2 separate regions of the Homo sapiens genome follow, and region 2 is linked to region 1. The links are contacts of gene promoters, found by promoter capture Hi-C in blood cells and fetal thymus (Javierre and others, 2016). All regions are on one chromosome and are shown on one strand. The core of a region is centred on a gene start or on the middle of the fragment in contact, and the rest is flanking DNA. Distances in the headings are between cores, read along the strand shown. Region 1 holds the start of MRS2 (magnesium transporter MRS2). Region 2 overlaps ACOT13 (acyl-CoA thioesterase 13).

What was found. The method cuts DNA at HindIII sites, captures the fragments that hold promoters and counts their contacts. A CHiCAGO score of 5 or more calls a contact.
Region 2: a fragment that was not itself captured here is called in contact with the fragment with the promoter of MRS2 in region 1 in 1 of 17 cell types (M0 macrophages); the score reaches 7.3 in M0 macrophages.

Annotation. Positions count from the first base shown.
Region 1 is chr6:24,400,628-24,404,935 of GRCh38, forward strand. MRS2 (magnesium transporter MRS2) reads left to right here and starts at 2,309. Exons shown (of 11, transcript NM_020662.4): 1 at 2,309-2,609. The coding sequence starts at 2,420. RefSeq lists enhancers at 1, 2-737, 2,946-3,680 and silencers at 1-8, 894-1,188. The HindIII fragment of the contact is 7,340 bases long and covers 1-4,308 here.
Region 2 is chr6:24,700,701-24,705,008 of GRCh38, forward strand. ACOT13 (acyl-CoA thioesterase 13) reads left to right here. Exons shown (of 3, transcript NM_018473.4): 3 at 759-4,308. The coding sequence ends at 915. C6orf62 (chromosome 6 open reading frame 62) reads right to left here. Exons shown (of 5, transcript NM_030939.5): 5 at 4,161-4,308. Among named protein-coding and RNA genes, the nearest start is that of C6orf62, 16 kb to the right of the region's middle. The HindIII fragment of the contact is 3,722 bases long and covers 629-4,308 here.

The sequences.
Region 1 (4,308 bases), core at 1,059-3,558:
GTCTTTCCCCTCCCACGAGGCCATATTTCAGACTATCACATGGGGAGAAACCTTGGACAATACCTGGCTTTCCCAGGCAGAGGTCCCTGCGACCTTCTGCAGTGTTTTGTGTCTCTGGGTACTTGAGATTAGGGAGTGGTGATGACTCTTAACAAGCATGCTGCCTTCGAGCATTTGTTTAACAAAGCACATCCTGCACAGCCCTTAATCATTTAACTCTGAGGTGACATAGCACATGTTTCAGGGAGCACAGGGTTGGGGGTAGGGTTACAGATTAACAGCATCTCAAGGCAGAAGAATTGTTCTTAGTACAGAACAAAATGGAGTCTCTTATGTCTACTTCTTTCTACACAGACACAGTAACAATCTGATCTCTCTTTCTTTTCCCCACATTATCAAGTCAAACATCCTCTCTTCTGTGAAGGCTTCTCTTTGTGCACTGCCCTCCTACTCCATCCCCAGTCCCAGTACCCTGCAGAATAAAATGTTTCTATCTCTGTCTCCTTAGCTTTGTGTCCATACATAGATATTGAAAGGAAGTCTGTGGAACTTGTGTCTGCCTTGTATTACTACTGTGGAAGGGACAATAAATTTATTAACTCATATTTTTAAAATATGCATACATACTGTATTTAACCTAAGACTTTTTTCATATTTTAAAGACTGGAATTGAGATATGTCTTTCAATCTACATGTTTAGAAAGCATAACTTATCAGTTTTTTTTTCTTTCTTGGTGGTACATAAAATAATGGTACCTTAAAATTGATGCTATCTTACATTTTATTAAATATGGAATAGAAATCTTATGTGTCTGTGCTCCTCATTCTTTATAGCAAAAGTTTAATACATGACATCATTCCATATGACAGTTGATTATTTTTGCCACTACTGGGGCTCAAACCATAATACCCCAAAATATGATGTTTTGGCATGCTGAGTCTTTGGGGTTTGTTTGTTTTGAGATGGGAGTCTCACTCTGTCGTACAGGCTGGAATGCAGTACAGGCTGGAATGCAATGGCATGATCTGGGCTCGCTGCAACCTCCACCTCCTGGATTCCAGCAATTCTTATGCCTCAGCCTTACAAGTAGCTGGGATTACAGGCACCTGCAACCACACCCGGCTAATTTTTGTATTTTTAGTAGAGACGGGTTTTGCCATGTTGGCCAGGCTGGTCCTGAACTCCTAACCTCAAGTGGTCCACAACATTGGCCTCCCAAAGTGCTTGGCTCCCAAAGTGCTGGATTACAGGCATGAGGCACCACGCCCGGTGGCATGTTGAGTCTTTGAATTAAAGGAAATTAAAAGGGTCTCAGAAAGAAGCCTAAAAATCAAGGCCTCTCTCTCTCACCTTCCCCCTTCCTTTTGTCTCTCTGATACTCTTACTTTTTCCAAGCACCTGAAGGGGCTCTCTTTTCCTGCACAGCCAGATAAGGAATTTCCTTATCTGACAGAGAAAACTCTTTTCCAAAGAAATGCAATTGTCTTAAAACCCGTTCCTTAGGAATCGCATTAAATAATCAGAAGAGATTAATCACCCAGAGAAGAGACAAAAACTGAAAGTCATAGCCACACTGAGACTTTTCATAGATACTTCTGAGGGTAGCTCCAAGAGATTACCTGGGAAACTTTACCTGTATAATAGGACAATTTTTGTTCAGAGTGAAGTTTCACAGCTTGTCCACAAGCGATTGTTTGTACTTCTGTCCCACTGAATGTCCAAGGAGAATCATTTGCAAACCACTGTCTGGCTTTCGGGCCCATTCATACCTATCTCCCTCTACTCAACAAAGAAGGGTATACAAGCATCTGGACCTTAATTGAGTTATTGAGTAATCACTCTTCTGTGATTTTTCCCTATGCACGTTAAGCAAATTTTGTATGCCTTTTTCTCCTGCTAATCTGTCTACTTAGTTCATTCCAGCAACTTTCAGAGGGCAAAAGTAGGAGCTTTCCCTCTTGCTCCCTACACCACGTTAAATTTAAATATAAATTAAATGATGTGGGAATGGGTAACCTGCTCATTTCCAAACTGCAATTTTCATAGGTATGAAAATTCTCCACAAACTACAAAACCATGACACTCCAAGCGCCCAAGAACCTAGGTTGGACAGCTCACTTAGTGCAGGTAAACGTGCTCCACCCATCTCCCAGCCCGCCTGCCCCCTCACTTAGGTACAGGTGCAGGTACAGGTAGGCAAGCAAACGTCTATTGGCTGTGGACTTAACAGGCTCGCCCACAGGTACCTTCCGAGCATGCGTGGGGAAGTAGCACGCAGGCGCGGCACGCCCCGCGCATGCCTGGTGCACAGAGTCTGCAGGTCGGGCGGTAGCGACAGGTCAGAGCTGCGGCCTGAGCAGCCAGCGTCCGGCATGAAGGTCTGGGGTCTGGCTGCTGCCTGCTTCTTGCTCCAGCACCATGGAATGCCTGCGCAGTTTACCCTGCCTCCTGCCCCGCGCGATGAGACTTCCCCGGCGGACGCTGTGTGCCCTGGCCTTGGACGTGACCTCTGTGGGTCCTCCCGTTGCTGCCTGCGGCCGCCGAGCCAACCTGATTGGAAGGAGCCGAGCGGCGCAGCTTTGCGGGCCCGACCGGCTCCGCGTGGCAGGTACTGCCCTTCCCCGGCAACAGCCTTGGGACGCTGGTCTTGCAGTGACCTTAGACTGCTGCCCCAGCCGTCCGGCGCGGCGCGCCTGTTGCTCCGCGCCCTCCGCAGGCCTCGGCCTCCCGCGTGTCCTGTGAGCTTGCACAGGCCCGCGGGCCGAGCTGCGTCCCACTCGCTCAGAATGCGACCTTGCTATGTGCGCTGTGCCCTGCCGGGGTCCCAGCGGCCAACCCTCTGCCTTCTCCTCCACCGCCCTTGCTGCAGATTATGTAACCATAGGAACAACCTAGGAATCGTTTACAGACCGTGATCACGTTAGTTAACACCCGCTTAAGTGCTCTTGTAAGAGGTTTTTTCTGTGTTGTTTTTGAGACAGGGTCTTACTATGTTGCCCAGGCTGGACTCAAACTCCTTGCCTCGAGCCATCCTAACGCATTAGCCTCGCAAAGCGCTGGGATTACAGGCGTGAGCCACCACACCTGGCCGAGAGGTGTTTTTAAACAAGGATTTCATCTGTTCGGAAGTCATAAGTATAAATTAATACTTCCCTGTTTTCTGTTTCTTCGTTATGGACACATTTATACAGTTGTCCAGTTGCACGGAGATTGGGGACGCACCTAGAAGTGAGGCTAAAGACTGAGTTGTTTCTGAGAACGACTTACTTTCAACTACAGTACTCTATAAGTAAACAGCCAGGGAGATCGGATTGAGAAAAAAAAATCTTATTTGCTGTTTATTTTTTCACCAAATGTTGAAGCATGGTGAAAAGTTAAGATTTTCACAAATGTGAGTGCAAATATTTGAGGAATAAAAGGTATTGAAATGAATGACTTTATTAAGAACATAGCAGTGTCCTCAAATATGTTTTCTCAATTGTGCTCTCAAAAGCCTCCCAAAGTAACTCCTCGTCAGCACCTCATTCTCCACTTATTGGAGAGGCTAAGTTGGGTTACATGCTCTGCACCCTCAATTGATAATGCTTGGGAATCCAGTTTCAGCAAGTTGGAGGAAACTTTTAGGACAAGCATTGACGTTCACAATCTCAATCCCGGTTACACTCTAATTTGTGACATTAAAACATTGAAAGGCATTTGTAATCAGCAAATGCCTTTTACCTTTATTCATCTTACCCTTATAGTGATAATTTGTATTTTGTAAAAGGGAAATGAAACTTCAGATACTAACAAATTACAACAATCATTACGTGTATGTAGTAGAAAAAAGATCAGAAATAGGTTTTTTTTTCTACAGTCTCTGGAATCAGTGTAATTACTTTGGAAGCACAAAACAGTGTCCTCTGTCAGTCATTAAATGTACTTGATTATACTTCACCGCTCACTTCGACTCAGTCTAATCACGTTTTAAATAGACAATTTTAAAATAAAGATTTGTCATTTCAGCTCAGTGGGGGTATTTCATAAGTATTCACTATAAAGGATATCTGTAGAAAAGAAGTAAAATCATAGGTTTCATAATTTATGAGCCAGTCAACTGGAATGCTTGAAAGATCAGGTGGTACTTAGGACCTATGTTTTCTAAAATGTATCTACTACCAAATGTGCATGAAGAGTCTTTTAAATTATGCGAAAAGGAAGACCAGACATTTTCTTAAATCTCAGAACACGATGTTGCACATTTGTTCATCCAACTCTGAGATATCAGTAATAATTAGAAAGGTAAAAGGGTGATTGGAATCCATCAG
Region 2 (4,308 bases), core at 1,240-3,739, 300 kb after region 1:
GCTGGGATTACAGGCTTGAGCCATCGTGCCCGGCCAGATCCACCTTTCTTATACCTCCTAGCCATAAATACTGAAGTCTTATTTTGAATATGGCAAAAATACATATCCTTTTTAAAGGTTTCTTTCTAAAAAGCAGAAACATAAAAATAAACTGTAAGGAAATTATTTCCCTTTAAAACATTAACATTTGTTTTAAACAATCCTCATCTCCCCAATTTTTTTTTTAATTAGCTGGAGCCAGCTGAGTTAAAGACAACTTATGATTACAAGTGACTAGGATGTACATCTCTTAAAAATATAGACAGTCCATCATCAAGATTGTAAGGACATCATATCAATTCCTTATAGTTGTTATATTGTCATTTTAGAGTCAAATAAATTGTAAATATGGATAGGACAATATACAGACACCAAGTGATATTTCATCTAAGAAGTTAAGGAGATTAAATGAAAGCTGGAGGAAATCTTTCACCAGCCCCAAATAAATGTGAAGTGGGAAATGTAAAGGGAAAAAAGGGGAGGCAAGAAAACCTCTTCTCACATATTTGGGAAAAGAAACTTGTGTGGGTAAGGAATGGGTAAAATAGAACCTGGTTAGGACCAGCCATTCACATTTGATAGTACAGAAAGCTTACCAATACTACCGTTAAAACTATTTTTAGGAGTAAAATAAGTTACATAGGAACACTGTTGTGAGATGCACACAACTTTCCCTTTGAAAAATTATCTGCTGTTAACTATATTCATTTTCTTTCAAGGTACATGTCACCTGCAAAATTAGGAGAAGATATAGTGATTACAGCACATGTTCTGAAGCAAGGAAAAACACTTGCATTTACCTCTGTGGATCTGACCAACAAGGCCACAGGAAAATTAATAGCACAAGGAAGACACACAAAACACCTGGGAAACTGAGAGAACAGCAGAATGACCTAAAGAAACCCAACAATGAATATCAAGTATAGATTTGACTCAAACAATTGTAATTTTTGAAATAAACTAGCAAAACCAGAAGCAGCTAGAAATATTCTTGGAGGAAAAGGACCTGGATATCAAGTAGGGTAAAGGTGGGGGTGTCTTTTTTCACTTTAAGCATCTTGTTTTCTAATCATGTGTGATAATTGGGTGAAAAATTCTTAGCTCAAAGTGTTTTAAAAACAGGTAAAGCAAAGAAACTAGCAGGACCACTCTCAGTTAAGATTAAAACTAAAGTCCAGTGTTAAGCTAAAGGAGAAATAGAAATTAATGGTTCTAATTCTGTTTGGGCTGCTAGGAACAACAGAAATTTTTCATGGTTCTAGAAGCTGGAAAGTCCTGGGTCAAGGCCCAGCAGATCCTGTTAGGTGAGGGCCCGCTTCCTGGCTCATAGATGGTGCCTTCTCACTGTGTGGTGGAAGGGGCAAGTGAGCCCTCTGGGTTCTCGTTTTTGAAATGGAGTCTCGCTCTGTTGCCCAGGCTGGAGTACAGCAGCACGATCTCGGCTCACTGCAATCTCTGCCCCCTGGGTTCAAGTGATTCTCCTGCCTCAGCCTCCCAAGTAGCTGGGACTATAGGCATGTGCCATCACACCTAGCTAATTTTTGTAGTTTTTTGTAGAAACAGGGTTCACCATGTTGGCCAGGCTGGTCTCGAACTCGTGACCTCAGGTGATCCGCCTGCCTTGGCCCCCCAAAGTGCTGGGATTACAGGTGTGAGCCAATGTGCCCAGCCTGGGTTCTCTTTTGTAAGGGCACTTACTCCAATCTTGAGGGTTCTGCCCTCGTGATCTAATAACTTCCCAAAGACCCCCACCTGCTAATATCACCTTGGGGGTTGGGATTTTAACATACAAATTTAGGGGAAACACATGGAGACCACAGCAATGGCCAATCCTTAGCGAATCTTAGGTCCTTCCCAGATCTAAAATGCCAAGCTACACTTGCATTTCCTTTTTTTAAGATTATGAAACTTCAAAATATATGAACTACAGCCCATATTGAAAAATAAAATAGATTGAGCCATATGCCTAAAAAAGACCTCAAGAAAAGTTTGAGGCTAAGCATGTTAGTGTTACAGGAAATGGTCCAATAGAGGGGGAAGAAAAAAAGCATGCTACTAGCCCCTTTTCTTGTACCGAGAATAAAACCATGCAGATCTCAAACCTCCAAGTCTATAGTATTGAAAAGACCAAGTTCACTTCTCAGAAGTCTCCAAGTTCAGTTGACTGTGGCACTCTGAGACAGCTTCTGTCACTCAGGCTGGAGTGATACAATCACAGCTTCCCATAGCCTCAAAATCCCAGGCTCAAGACATTCTTCCACCTCAGTCTCCTGAGTAGCTGGAACTACAGGCGTGTGCCACCACGCCTAATTTTATTTTTGTAGAAACAAGGTCTCACTGTTGCCCAGCCTCGTCTCAAACTCCTAGGCTCAAGCAATCCTCCTGCCTTGGCCCCCCAAGTACTGGACTTACAGGTGTGAACCACTGCACCCAGCTGACTCTTACTTGATTTCTGTCAGGGAATCTTAATGAACATTTCATGACTAAAGACTAAAAAGGATGCAGCTTTAAGTAAATTTAAGTCAAGTTAACAGTTAAAGACAAATCCTTTCCCTACATTAGATCGCCTGCTGATCTGTCCACTGTGAAAGGGCAGAAGACTCCACAGTAGCAATAGCAGCAGTGAGCATACAGGAGTCCCAGATGTTTACTTCTAGTATTTCCCACTAAAAGGAAGCTGGGCTCCTTGGAGAAACAGCTGACTCCAGGGCTTGAGGCTGGGACAGAAAGGTTACAGTATCTTATGCATGAAAGGAGATGCTCAAAATAATAAAGGCATGCAAATTATGATTTGGAGGGAAAAAATATGAGGCCATAGTGTTTAGGTAGATAATAAATGGCAGAGATAGAACACTCTCTTACAACAAATGCTGTAAATGGACAAAGCATTAGATTTGGAAAATCACTATTTTGTAACCATCATAGTTAAAGACTGGTTTGGGTTTTAGTCTGGAAAGAATCGCCAAGGGAGCTCCTGATAAAGGAACAGGGTATTTGCACATTGCTTCCCAGAGATTGCTAGTAGTAAGTACCACACATAGGGCAAAACCAGGACACCTTGACCAGGCGCTCAAAAGTAACATCAATGAAGAGCAGATGGAGAGTATACTTGAGAAGGGCGTTAAGCATGAATAAACAATTCAAATGCAAAATGAGTAACAATTTACAAGAAAAATTGCCCTGTACTCCAAAAAACATAGAGGTCATGGAACACATAAAGGCTAAGGAACTGTTCCACATTAAAGACAACTGAGAACAACTAAATTCAATGATCCTGTACTCTAGAGGGGGGGATCTAAAACAAGCTACCAAGGATACTGGGACAACAAAACGAATATGGATGATAAAGAGTATCAACATTCCCTGAGTTTGGTAATTTTACTCTAGTTATATGAAATATTCTTGTACTTGGAACATATGCCGAAGTACTAAGGAAGGGGTAAGGAAGCACAAAGTGTGCAACAAACTCAAATAGCTCACAGGTATAAGTGTACAGAGAAAATGAAAAAAATGTGGCAAAATAATAAAAATGAGGGTAAAGATTACACAACAGCTTTCATATTACTCTGGTAACTTTTCTAAATTATTCCAAAATAAAAACGTAAACAATGGCTGCCAAAATGCCTAACTTGGTGAACATAAGTGTAATTCAATATGGTAAATTAATTCAACATGGTAAATTAAGAGCATAGGCCTTAAGAGCCAGCCAGCCTGGTTTTAAATCCTCCACTACTTATGATCTGAGCTTGAGCAAGTTACTTAACCTCTGCATCTATTTCCACCAAAGGTTGAGAGGTTAAGACAAGAGCTTAGAAGAGTACCTGGTTATAATAAACATTCAAAATGTTATTTCAAATAGATTCTAATTTTTAAATAAGAGGACACATGAAAGCATTTTGAAATTTAAGAATGGCCCTTTCCCATGAAGCAAGGCATAAGGCCAGGTTGCTAACTGTTGAAAGCTGACAGTATGTTCTTGATTCCTGTTCTTGTTGAAGTTACACACTCAATTGCCAGGTATTTTTCTTCTGAATTTACTATTTAGCCACAGACTATGAAATAATTCTCTAAGGTGACCAGTAACATCAGTGAAATGGAAAGAAAAAGTTAACACTTCAAACTTTGTGTATTCACCTGAATAGTCAGGGAACTTTCACCTATTTTATTTAGGTTTTCTTTTTCTTTTTTTCTTTTTTTTTCAAATTCCAACCAGAAGCTAAATACAATTGGAAACTGGTAAGCACTAGTTTTACTCCAAAGGAGTAGGAT